Regions from separate parts of the Homo sapiens genome. Here regions 1 and 3 are each linked to region 2. The links are contacts of gene promoters, found by promoter capture Hi-C in blood cells and fetal thymus (Javierre and others, 2016). All regions are on one chromosome and are shown on one strand. The core of a region is centred on a gene start or on the middle of the fragment in contact, and the rest is flanking DNA. Distances in the headings are between cores, read along the strand shown.

Region 1 (4,548 bases), core at 1,876-4,375, 5.1 Mb before region 2:
GCGGCCGTAGGCTAACGTGGAAGTCGGACCAGCCGGCCGGCGGAAGAACCTAGAGCGCGCTGCCTGGCGAGTCAGGCGCGCGGGGCGGCGTTGGTGGTCTTCGCGGCGCAACTCGGCCTTTCCTGGGAGGGAGTGATGGGGCGCACCGGGGCCGGGGAGCGGGCGCCAGTGTAGCCCGCGCGGCGCCTGGCCCGGAGCGCGGCGGCTGCGGCGGCGGCGGCGGCGGGCGCTGGAGGCCTGTGAGAGCCGCAGCCCGGAGCGCCCGGCTTCCCACGCCATGGCCCCCATGGGCATCCGCCTTTCCCCACTGGGGGTGGCAGTGTTTTGCCTGCTGGGGCTCGGCGTGCTCTACCACCTCTACTCGGGCTTCTTGGCCGGCCGCTTCAGCCTCTTCGGCCTGGGCGGCGAGCCTGGCGGCGGCGCGGCGGGGCCCGCGGCCGCGGCCGATGGGGGCACCGTGGACTTGCGCGAGATGCTGGCTGTGTCAGTGCTGGCCGCAGTCCGCGGCGGCGACGAGGTGAGGCGCGTCCGCGAGAGCAACGTCCTCCACGAGAAGTCCAAGGGGAAGACGCGCGAGGGAGCCGAGGACAAGATGACCAGCGGCGACGTGCTGTCCAACCGCAAGATGTTCTACCTGCTCAAGACCGCCTTCCCCAGCGTCCAGGTGGGAGCCCACGGGCGGAGCGCCCACTCGAGCCGGGTAGCGCGTCTCGGCCCGTCGACTCTTAACAGTATGGGATGTGGAGCTTCTGGTTCCATTTTGTAGATGTGGAAATTGAGACGCAGAAGTTAACGTGCACAAGGTCAGACAGACAGCAGAGGAGCTGGGTGAGGTTGCACGTAGTCTGACTCAGGGCCCGTGCCCTTTTGGCTCGTCCTGGGTCGGGTGTGCGCCGTGTGTACCTGGGATCAGAAGGCCTTGAAACGAAAAGGCTGACAAAGTTAATTGCACCCGCAGCTTCAGGCTCCTCTGTAGAATTAAGGGGTTGGCTAAAATCCACCAAGACTCTCTATCCTTCCTTGATTTCATCCCTAGAAGGGTCGAAACTGGAGTACACATTTTCTGGGTGGCCTGCCAGTAGCCAGCTGAAAGACCGAGTCTTGTTGCAGAGCTGTTAGTGTGCGGGGCATTTGTGTGTGCGTGTGTGCGCTCGCGGGAGTCGGGGTGGGGGGGTGGGGGATGAGTATGCTCATTTCGCTGTCTTTTTGTCAGGACGCTCTAAAGTTTATAGTTTGCGGGCCCTTTAAGGAGGTACTTAGAAATATACCAGCTGTTGGTCCTACCTGGCCCTTGATTAAAGATCCATATTTACTCCAGAGAATAAGAATTAAATAACATTTGGCTTTTCTTTGGGTAGGTTTCTGGGAAGGGAGTTGACATTTTCTTAAGGAAATCCAGACATTTTGGATTTGTTATTAATACTTTTTGAATTCATCATTTCACTGGAGCTGCTATTGAGTTGAATAAAGCATATTTAAAATTTGCAGTTCCAGAAACTGCAAATTTTGTTGAGGAAGAGCTCAGCATAGCGTAGCAGCACCTTATTAACGTATATCTTAACTCACCTAACTGTAGTTTTGGCTACTGGGAAGAAAAATTGTCTTCACTGGAATTTTATTAGATAAACAGTGATGTGCAAACCCAGGCTTCTTTGGAAGGTGACTGACCTTTTACTGCTGATCTTGAAAGAGTTAGGAGAATATTGTCATTGTTTAGTTATGTATTTTGCATAAGGCTTCTTCCAGTCTATCATAATATTGCTTTGGTTTTGTTTTTTATTCTCCTCTCTTCCTCCCTTTTCTTTCGTCTTTTTCTTTTTCCAGTGGAAAGGAACATTGTATTTCCTAACATGAGCTACTGGATACCAGATGTAATTAACGTTAGAATTTTTTTTTTCAAATTTCTACTTAAAACACAGAATATTTCCACTTTTTCTTCTTCCCTACTCTGTTTTTATCATCACAAATAATACTTAAATTTTTTTGCATCTAGATGTAAGGTGTGTTTATGAAATATTTTACCCCCTTTCCAAAACATACGTGTTTCCTTCCCCAAGAATTTATAGAGGAAACAGGAGATTCAGAGAAGTTGCTATTTAATGGTTATAACAGTACTAATAATAACCATTTATTGAATATATTTTACATGCCCAAATACTGGCTACACAGGACTTCATTTGATCCTTAACAGCAACTTTAAGAAGTAAATTTTATTTCTGCCTACTATACAAACGGGAAATCTGAGGCTCGTGACACTCCAGCTTATATGAACTATCCCACATTTTAGCTAGATTTTTAGAAGGCTATTTAAAACTTATAATTGTAGAAGCTTAAAAGCAGTAATAGTGAAATACAGCAAGCAGAGTTGATTTTTCTTTTTTTAAGTAAAAACAAAAGTATCTTAAATGTTGAAAACACATCTGTATGTGTGTGCATTCTCATTTATTAGCAAACAATAAGGGAATGGCTGCCAAGGGCAGTGAGCTGCATTTTATTAACATAAAAGCTAAGCTTTTGGAATTGCAGATGTTGAAGTCTCTGGCTTAATATAAAACAACTTCTTGTTTTCTTGTGACTATTTGAATGTTTGCATGTGCTTCTGTAGTATTCATGTTGGGTCATGACTGAAGGAATAGAAGAGGTTTGTGATCATTTATACAGTGTCAAAGTAGGGATGGTGTCATGTTGAGCGATCTCCTTATACCCCTGTGTTATAGGCTAGAGGCCAAATATTGTAGCCAACTAAGTGGAGAATCAACCTAAAAGGAGTCTTTCTCCTTTTTTGCCTTCCCCTCTCCTAATGCCCAGAAGTACAGTCTTAAATCCCTGGTTAATTTTGAAGCCTCACCCCAAATTTCTTGGTAAGAAACTTAAATTATATCCCACTTAGTTTACTTCCTAGTGGAAAAAGACCATTGAGAAGCAACAGATACTTCTTTCTTTTATCCTAGTGCCCTATGTAAATGTAGAAAGATCTGTTTTCTCCCACTACTTTCCTATGTAGAGTCTGAAGTCTGAGCTTTCGTATGTAATGTTCACTCCTCAGTAAAAGGATATACCAGGGGTTATCCTAGAGCACTCAACTGGAGACAGTTTTGTCCCCTAACTGACATTTGACAACGTCGGAAGACATTTTTGATTGTCACAACCAGGGGTGGGATGCTACTGGCATCTAGTAGGTAGAGGGTAAACATCCTATAATGCACAGGACAGCCCCCTATGACGAAGAATTATCTGCTCCATTTGTCAATTGATGCCCAAGTTGAGGAATCATACTCCAGAGAAGTGAGTGCTATCCTAACAAAACTCAGATTTCACCTAGGCTCCCTGGATTTCCTTTTGTCTTCAGTTTTCTTCAGGTTAGAGATCCCAGAGAGTCCTCTGGGCAGCTAGTCTCCTCTTCCTAAACACTTTGGCAATGCTTGACTTCATTGTGTCAAAGTAATAGTAACTCCAGCCATTTGTATGGCACTGTCTCTTTATCCTTGCAGGTAACAATGAAAATGAAGGCTGAAGATACTTTTGTGGAGTGGGTTTGCAGCCACAGAACAGACAAACTGAGATTTATAGTTTTGATTTAATGTACAGGGGACTGTCTGTTTGAGGGGCTCCTGTCCTCAACTTGATTTGTTCAAAGTTTTGACAATGACTTATTTGAAGGTAAAGCATGGTACTCCAAGCTGGTAGCAGCCACTTGGGTCTGTGCCTTCCTTGACCTATAAGATGGAAGTTAAGCTTCTCTCTTTCAACAGAAGTATGTCCCAGAAAAGTTTGAGAAGCACTAATATAGTGCACAGAGCACTTGCATTGACATGTTGTGCAGTCACCAGCCTAGGTGGTACTGGCCAGTCATTTAACTTTTTTGAGCCATAGTTTCCTCTTCTGTAAAATCAGAATAACTAGTAATTGGTGTAGACATAAGCACTGAAAACAGAGGAAAAGAATCTAGTTCAAAGGAACAGGCCCAAGAGAGATAGTAGGACAGCTAATTCTTGTAATCTAATGAGTTTGAGTAAAATGCACTTGGGAGAATTATTGTGGAAGAGATTGGAAAGGTAGGTAGGGGCTAGGTCATATTCCAAGCTCAAAGGAATTTGGACCTAGTCCATGGTTTACTAGTAGAATACTAAAAGAAGGCCAGATTTAGCTGACTTTTCTTGAGGCCTGCAATAAGCCATACTTTGGGCTTTGGGCATTTGGAGGTAGATAGGAACTAGTTAGAGACTGTTAAAACAGGCCATGGGAGAGATGAGGACCAGGACTCAAGCAGTGGGGAAGTTATGCTGAGCTTGTTTTACTAGCTAACATTTGCATAGCCTTCTGCAAGCCACAAAAATTGAATTAAACTTCTTAATGACATTATTAATTTTATCTTCACAACAACAAAGGAGGTTAAGTACTACAGCCTCTGTTTTTCAGATAAAGACTTGGAGAGGCTAAATAATTTGCCAAAGATTGTCCAGCTAGAATTTTTTTTTTTTTTTTTTTTTAAAGATGGTGTCTCGCTCTGTCGCCCAGGCTGGAGTGCAGTGGCACAATCTCAGCTCA
Region 2 (4,214 bases), core at 156-2,655:
TAACCTATAAGGGTAGCTTACGCTCACTCTCATACTTGAAAATCAAAACCGAACAGAATTCACACGATGGAAGCAAATCATGCTACAACCTACTATTAGAGACTGAAGGGAAACGCACAAAGATTAATGAACAACAAAGAACACTTCAAAAAGTACAGTATTTGGAAAAGACATGCCTTTATGTACACTAAAACTAATTTAAAAAATTAAATGCAGTTTGCTAGGAGTCTTACAAGTATTAACAGCATGTTCACTGCTTAGGATCCTTAGTAGCAATATTTTCCCGGCTCGCCTGCCCCTATGCCTCATTTCCTCTTCTTTTTTTTTTTGAGATGGAGTTTCGCTCTTGCCGCCCAGGCCAGGTGCCATCTCAGCACTGCAACCTCCGACTCCCGGGTTCAAGCGATTCTCCTACCTCAGCCTCCCGAGTTGCTGGGACTACAGGCGCACGGCACCACACCCGGCTAATTTTTGTATTTTTAGTAGAGACGGGGTTTCACCATGTAGGCCAGGCTGGTCTCTAAGTCCTGACCTCAGGTGATCCGCCTGTCTCGGCCTCCCAAAGTGCTGGGATGACAGGCGTGAGCCACTCACCCGGCCCTCTTCTCGACTTTCTATCCCTCCTCCTCAACACCCTTTCCTTCTGGAAATGGGCTTTGGGGTGGTTAACCAAGCCCAGGGAAACTTGCGTGGCCCAGCATCTTCCGTCCGCTGCAGGAGGAGCACACGCCCCCGGCCCGGGTCAGCAAGACGCGAGAAAGCGGCCACGCCGGGCGTCCGGGAGCTGAGGCTGGAGGGCGCCTGGCAGGCAGGGCGGGGCCCAGGCGGCGGGAGTGCTTATGACCGGCGCTGGGGGGAACTTCTGGACGTCAAGGGGCCACTATAAAGCGGCACAGTCTTGAGCCTTCGCTCTTCACCTAAGTCAGTGAGCGCCCTTCGCAAAGCCTCTGTGGAGGTAACCATTGGGGGTTCGCCTCCAAATCCAGGAATGCACCTCAAAAATGCTCCTACACCGTAAGACCGTGTCCTTCAATGCAAAGGGGACTGTGCGGCGAGGCACCGACAAGCCGTAGCCCTGAGACCACTGAAAGCCTGCACCCCAGCGCCGGTGCGAGAACGTGGAGATGGCGGTGGGGAGGAGAGGTGGAGGCCATGCTCTCGCGTGATCTCCCCTACCGCCATCGTCTTCTGGCCTGTCAAGGCCTCGCGTTGTTTGGGCTTGGGGGCGGAGCGAGCCCTGAGGGGGGCGGGGCCAGATGGGGGCGTCTCCCGGCCTTGTTGACTTTGGCGTCCGCGGGGAGCTGCCCCTGTGCCCGTGGTTCTCTGCGCATGCCCGGACCCCGGCGGCTCCGGAGTCCGGGAGGCTCTGGCTGCTCCAGTCGCGGGTCCGGGCCCCGCCTCTCCACTCGGCGGTGGCGTCCGTGTTGTTATTGTGGTGGTAGCGGCGTCTGGCTGCTGCGGACCCCGCCGAGTCCTAGCGCCTGGCCTGCGCGCCGCTGCCCGCGCCACAGGTAACGCCGCCGCCAGTGGGGGCTCGGGGTCGTGGGGTGTGCGAGTCCCGCGTGCTAGGGCCGGGCGGGCGACTGGGATGCGCTTGGAGGCCAGAGGGCCAGGGGGACGGCAGCCGAAGAGTCGGGGGCAGGGGGACTTAAGGGCGGGCAGGTCGGGGGCCAGGAAACTGAGGCGCTGCGGGGCAGGTTGGGGGAAGGACGGGCCGGGGGCGGAGGACTTGGGAGGTCGGGGAGTCGAAAGGGGCCCAGCGAAGCCTGGAGGTCGGGAGCCGGGGTCCCTGGGGCCGGGGAGGTCGGGGGCCCGAGGGAGGCCGGGGCGCCGCGTCCTCGGCCCGTCCTCGGCTCGTCCTCGGCTCTGACCTGGGCTTGGGGACCAGAGTCCCGAGGCTGGCGTCTTGAGATGCCCGCGGGCCCCTTAGGGCCGTTTTGGATCCGCCCAGTGACTTCTGTTTTGGTTTTGGAGGCAGAGAATCCAGTCTACGTAGACTCGGGGAAGTCTCGGGGGCTGGGAGGGGACTGAGAGGTTATAGCAGGCGCCAAGGCCTCTTTTTGTGTTTTTGAGCGTCTACTACCGTTCCGGGGAAGTGCAGTGCCCGCGTTTTGCTTGGGGAATTTCAGACACCGGCATGGGGAGGACCCACGGGCAGAACCCGAGGGAGTAATTTTGCAAATCCAAGATTTTTTGGAACTTCTATAATTTTGTTTTCGTGTGTCCTCTTTTTAGAATCGAGAAACCAGAGATATATTTTTAACATTACAAATCAGAAGAATTTGCTACGGAGGAAAAAAGTATGCTTTTAGCAGTGTTTTTCCCCTATTTATTTTTTTAATTACAAAAGTACTGCTTGCTCCTTGAGAAAAACATGAAGCAGCCAAACAATGAGGAAACCTGCCCTCTCTCGCGCCCTTCCCCCCATATTTCTCCTTCTTACTACCCAGGGTAGCCAGTCTCCAAGTGTGGTGGGTAGTTATTCAGGATTTTTTTTTTCTGTGCATTTAATGAGTGTGCTTTAGAAACAAGATTGGGATCATATATAGTACAGTATATCGTTTTATTAGCCAACAATGCATCATGGATATTCCTCCATTTTATTACACACCTCATTATTTTAAAAAACATTATTACTATGTATTAGAGAATCCAATCTACGTAGGCTTGGGGAAGCCTTTTCTTCATTGTTAAACATGGTCGCCAAGTTTTCAATAATCAGTAGCTTTGAAAAGGGCTACAAGCCAATATTTTGAAACAATGTGGCAAAACTTTCAGAATGTCTGCGGCCAGACGACATTACTTTCGTATTAAGCAGATTAATATGTTTACGTATTGCTTAATGGTAGTTTACATGAGGCTAGATGACTCCATAAAACATAAAGTTGCTGAATTAGTTTACTTTTTGGTTTTTTTTATTTCATTTTTTTCTAAGTAAATTTTAATTCCATATGGTCAGTTGAACACTTGTAATTTCTTTAACATGAAGTAGCTAATATGTGAAGGAAAGGTAAGGTAGGAAAGATAGAAAGCTAGTGGCCCTAGCCTGAGACAAGAAAAAAAAAGCAACAGGGATTAAATATTTTGGTAAGTAAGCTATAGGGAGTAAACTGGAAGTGGAGGGGTGATACTACACTGCCTACTATTAAGTAAGACAGAAAGCTAGGAAATTCCCATTGCATACTGTATTTCTGTGTGCAGAAGAGCTGGAGGCTTTGTTGATTTAATCACTAGCTTGTATTTATTAAAAATGTACTGTGTTCATCTTGGTGCTAGCTTCCAGGGAAAGAACAACTGAGGAAGATAATCACGAACAACGTCTGGTTCTAAACATGCATAGCCTGAAATTTTAAGCCAAATTGTGTAGTATTTTATGATTTGGAAACTGTGCTCGAAAGGAATAAAAAAATCCATGACATTTTAGTTATTTTTGGTAATAATATGCTCATATATTTCTCATAACAACATAAATGACATTCTTCTCATTCTATAGAGTAATAAATAGAGGCTTTGAGTAAAAGAACTGCTCAAGATCCCATTGCTTTTTTTTTTTTTTTGTAATAGTGCGTGTTTATATTCAGGAGTGCTTAATCCAAGAACCTGTGTTTTCTGCTCTTGTTTTACCTCCTATGAACGAAAAATTGTTGCCCTTACGGTTTTTTCTGCTTTCTTTGAAATGTTCCTTACAGAATAACTACATGAATGTAATCACATGCATTTAAAATAGTCTAGAGAATATAGTGTGAAACTATAATGGTATTTTTTTAGATGAGGTTTCTGGTGGCATATTACTAAAATTTTAAACTCCTTGATCTTATGCTGTTAACCAAGAAGATGGGGATTTGTGTTACTTTAGACACTGCTGGGTGCCATGGTAAATTGGGATGTTATTGTAAATTGTAGCTCTCACAGCTGCGTATTGCTTACAAACTCGGAAGGATAGTCTCATATCAGTAAACATTTTTATGAACGTAGTTGAACTTTTTTGTAAATTAGTGTGCTGGAAAGAATACCAAGAGGGCCCTAAAAAAGTCTAAAAGGATTAAAATTTACTTATGTAATTATTGGTATTTTAAAATATTTGGTAGTCACTTAAAATGCATAATGACAGACAATAGGGTGTCATAATATGGTTTATTAATCTTTTTTCATTTTCCACTAGATGTGGCAACTACATAGTTGGAAGAAATGTGGCGGCCGGGGGCAGTGGCTCA
Region 3 (4,295 bases), core at 1,175-3,674, 9.1 Mb after region 2:
GGTTGGGCGCAGTGGCTCACGCCTGTAATCCCAACACTTTGGGAGGCCGAGGCAGGCGTATCACCTGAGGTCAGGAGTTCGAGTCCAGCCTGGCCAACATGGTGAAACCCCATCTCTACAAAAATACAAAAATTAGCCAGGCATGGTGGCGGGTGCCTGTAATCCCAGCTACTTAGGAGGCTGAGGCGGGATAATCGCTTGAACCCAGGAGGCGGAGGTTGCAGTGAACTGAGATTGTGCCACTGCACTCCAGACTGAGCGACAGAGTGAGACTCCCTCTCAAAAAAAAAAACAAAAAAAAAAACAACAACAACAGTGAGGAGACATGAAGAGGGATGGATTTAAGGGGCATTTATTTATTTAGTCTACAAAATTAACCTGGTCATCAACGGGTTTTATGGGTGACAAAAAAAATCCAAGATGACTCCAAGGTTTCTGGTTTAGACAACTGTTGAACAGATAATTCACAGATGATAATTCACAGATGATAATCCCAAAGGCAGAACGGATATACAAAGGAAATAAAAGATGAGAGAATTATGGTATTTGGTTCAGTTTAAGGAGCAGGGTGTTTAGGAGTTAGAGGAGGGCAGAAGATGGAACCCTGGGGAAACAGCAACATTTAAAAGGGCAGGAAAGGTAGAGAATAAGGGCCAAGGGATTACTCAACAGTCCGCTCTCCAGGTCTGCCTGGCTCAGATCTATATAAAGAAAAGGAGCAGGGAATGAAGTAAAACTGTTACAGGAAAGGGGTCCCAATCCAGACCCCAAGACAGGGTTCTTGGATCTCACGCAAGACAGAATTCAGGGCAAGTCCACAGTACAAAGCAAAAGCAAGTTTATTAAGAACGTAAAGTGGTGAAAGTACAGCTACTCCACAGACAGAGTAGGGCATTCCCGAAAGTAAGAGGAGGAACGCGTCCACCCTAAGTACAACACTTAGTTTATATATAGGATAAAAAAAGATCATGGGGAGATGTGCTTTGCTACAAGGGTTTGTGATAAAGGATTAATTACTATATTATGTAAGAATCGATATTATCTTTATTTATGAGACAGAGTCTTACTCTGTCGCCCAGGCTGGAGTGCAGTGGTGCAAGCACGGCTCACTGCAACCCCCGCCTCCCGGATTCAAGCGATTATCCTGCCTCAGCCTCCAGAGTAGCTGAAATTCGAGGGCATGTGCCACCACACCCGGTTAATTTTTGTATTTTTAGTAGAGACGTTTTCACCATGTTGACCAGGCTAGTCTTGAACTCCTGACCTCAAGTGATCCGCCCGCCTCGGCCTTCCAAAGTGCTGGGATTACAGGCGTGAGGCACTGTGCCCAGCCCAATATTATTATCTTTAAAGCAAAATTAGGAATGCTTCTGTTCTCAAAATATCGGGATATCTGGACACTTGGTAGTCTGGGTCTGTGTAGTAAACATTATCAATCTGTTGCCTTAATGGTATACACATCTAGAGGCTAGGAATACCTAACTTCCCGGGAATGCAGCCCAGCAAGTCCCAGCCTCATTTTCCTAGCCCTCACTCAACACAGAGTCGCTCTAGTTCGAACCCCTCTAACATATTCTCTCTCAGGTGTGAAAATTGCTGCAGCAGTTCGCTATTTGCAACACAGCACATGGAAATCACAGCAATGGAGAGCCTTCAGAAAAGCTTCTGGGGAGGGACAGCCTGGTGGCTCAACTCCTGTAATCCCAACCCATGGGGAGGTCGAGATGGGAGGATCCCTTGAGCTCGAGTTCCAGACTGACCTGGGCAACGTGGGGAGACAACGCCTCTATTTATTTAAAAAATTACATATATATATATATATATACATACACACACACATATATACATACACACATATATACATACATATACATACATATATATAAAACGCTTCTGCGTTGGCAATTGAGATGATTTGGCGAGTGTGTCTTTTTTCATTGCTAAAAATCTGTCACGTTGGCTCTCACAGAAACTTGTGATACCTGAAGACACAGGTAATGGGATAAAGATTAGCACTCTGGGAAAAGGTTCCACAATTTTATTAATCATACACCATCTGTGTCCGCCCTTTTAAAGAAATGGGCGCAATCAGCCAACGACCTCGGCTTTACACCTGTTCTCCAAGAGGCCCTAGTTGTTCCCTACTGTAAGCTGCCCCAGAAAAGGTCCGCATCAATTAACCCACGGGAACAGCCCGGGGCTGGAGGATGCCCCAGGAATCCGGCCTCCCGCCGCGCCTCCTCCCCCCACAAGCAGTTCCTTCCTGCCTGCCGGAAGCTCAGGGCTCCGCCCACTTCGGCAACTCTGAAGCCACCGCCGGAAACACCTGGCCTCAGCCAATAGTTAGCTTCCCAGGAAACGTTACCTCTGACCTCGGGGCTAATCAGAGACAGTGGGACGCACCCCTCGCGAGAGGTGAGGTTGAAGCTGCCTCCGCCATCTTGGAGATGGGAGACGGGCGATGGCTGTGGTCCTTCTGCTAATGCAAACAACAAAACGGGCACACTAGTCACCCCCGAGGGAGGCCACCATCACTGTAACTGTTGGCCAAAGCTACAAAAGAAGCGAGGGAATCCAACCGAGCGCAGCGACACTGAGAACAGCTTCCCCTGCCTTCTGCGGCGGCAGAAGTGAAGTGCCTGAGGACCGGAAGGATGGTGCAGTCCTGCTCCGCCTACGGCTGCAAGAACCGCTACGACAAGGACAAGCCCGTTTCTTTCCACAAGTGAGGACCCTGCGCGCCTCGCGGGGCCGGTCTCAGCCGGGGTGGGGGCGCGCGGCCGGCGGGGCCGGGGGCGGAGCCAGGCGCGTGTCCGCGCGAGGGGCGGGTGGGGTCTGGGGCCGGCCGTGTCGGGCGTTTCCCACCGCGTCCCGCTGGGAACCGCCGCCCGATCGCGCGTTCTCGGCGCGCGTCGCCGCGGCAGCCGTTTCTCGCGCTCCTGGAACAGGCCCTGGTTGCAGGCTTCGCTCACGGCCTGGGTTGACGCGTTCGGAGCCCACGGGCGATGCCTAGGGTGGCGCGGGTTTTGCCACCACCAGGGTCACAGAGCAGCCAGGTGTTTTAATATGGTCTTAGGGGTAAATTTAAAATAGAAACAAAGGCCTTTAAACGAAGAAATCACTACTTTTCGCCCTTGCCGTGGATGGGAGGCCAGCATCGTAGCAATTAAGGGTTTTTTGGCTGGGAAATCAGGGAGAATTTTTGCCCCCAATCTCTAGGAACTAAGCTTTAAGGACCCTGTATTTTGGAGAAAGCTTCAGGTACTGCCGAGATAAATCGTTATCTTTTCAGCACACAATAATGATAATATGGACAGTTACAACATGGATCATAATAAAATGACTCACACGGATCTTTATTTATTATGGCATTACCTGTGCATAGAGAAAGCTCTTTCGAAAGAAACTGCCCCACAGCTTTCAGAGCTGTCTTATCCAGTAGGTAGCACAGTTAAGTGATAGGATCAAAAATATTCTCTTGAAAATAGGAAAAAAGTGCAGAGTTGTAATTACTTATGATAAACGCTTGTAAAATGTGACATAACATTTTCATTCAGCTGAATTTGTTTACAAATTTTAATTACATTTATGTTAAGTTTTCTTTGCAAGAATTCCTGACAGCTATACGCAGATGATAGGTAAGAAATCAGATCCAGGGGTAAACTATACAGATTAGCCATAGGTAATTAGCTAATTATCTTTTATAATTAGGTAAATAATTACAAAAGCAAAATGTTAAATATCTTTTCAGTTAATTTATTTTTTTGCTGTGGGGCCATCTGTGTTTACTAGGGGAGTGTCCATGCATTTTTTAAATATGTTTGATATCATGTGAGATGGACCCTATAGAAATAAGAGTGTGTAGAACATAGAGAGGTCTCCAGAGTAATAATGTTACCCCTTGGAGAAGGGGATAGAACACTTAGAGGATTCAGTTCAGGATATCCTAATATTATCTCTTGATTTAATTGGAATTTCTGTAAACATGTTCTTTCTAAATGTAGGGAAAGGTCAGGTGATGGTAACAGGATTACATGCCCAGCTCCCCACCCACATTTCTGATGGCTTGGCAGAAGGAATCTAAAATTATGGAAAATGTTTCATTGGCACTGGAAACTAGTTTAAAGAGGGTATTCACACGTCGGAAATAACTGTTTTTGTCGAGGCACGATGGCTCATGCCTGTAATTCCCAGCACTTGGGGAGGCCAAGGTGGGCGGATCACCTGACGTCAGGAGTTCGAGACCAGCCTGGCCAACATGGCAAAATCCCGTCTCTACTAAAAATACAAAATAC

Evidence for each region. Contacts are between HindIII fragments. The CHiCAGO score rates a contact against its expected background, and 5 or more counts as called.
Region 1: a contact is called between a fragment that was not itself captured here and the fragment with the promoter of PCMTD1 in region 2, in 1 of 17 cell types (activated CD4 T cells). The highest score is 5.5, in activated CD4 T cells.
Region 3: a contact is called between the fragment with the promoter of THAP1 here and the fragment with the promoter of PCMTD1 in region 2, in 1 of 17 cell types (total CD8 T cells). The highest score is 9.3, in total CD8 T cells.

Annotation. Positions count from the first base shown.
Region 1 is chr8:56,989,315-56,993,862 of GRCh38, reverse strand. It overlaps BPNT2 (3'(2'), 5'-bisphosphate nucleotidase 2), which reads left to right. Exons shown (of 5, transcript NM_017813.5): 1 at 1-664. The coding sequence starts at 278. Among named protein-coding and RNA genes, the nearest start is that of BPNT2, 2.3 kb to the left of the region's middle. RefSeq lists a silencer at 1-439. The HindIII fragment of the contact is 1,224 bases long and covers 2,514-3,737 here.
Region 2 is chr8:51,896,227-51,900,440 of GRCh38, reverse strand. It overlaps PCMTD1 (protein-L-isoaspartate (D-aspartate) O-methyltransferase domain containing 1), which reads left to right and starts at 1,405. Exons shown (of 6, transcript NM_052937.4): 1 at 1,405-1,511. It overlaps PCMTD1-DT (PCMTD1 divergent transcript), which reads right to left and starts at 1,126. Exons shown (of 4, transcript NR_189279.1): 1 at 595-1,126. RefSeq lists enhancers at 289-348, 649-708, 879-1,168 and a silencer at 1,209-1,898. The HindIII fragment of the contact is 4,691 bases long and covers 1-4,214 here.
Region 3 is chr8:42,841,454-42,845,748 of GRCh38, reverse strand. THAP1 (THAP domain containing 1) reads left to right here and starts at 2,424. Exons shown (of 3, transcript NM_018105.3): 1 at 2,424-2,725. The coding sequence starts at 2,655. LOC124901940 (a long non-coding RNA gene) reads right to left here and starts at 2,815. Exons shown (of 2, transcript XR_007060901.1): 1 at 2,366-2,815; 2 at 337-1,982. RefSeq lists enhancers at 2,346-2,705, 2,041-2,831 and a silencer at 2,736-2,825. The HindIII fragment of the contact is 1,565 bases long and covers 1,665-3,229 here.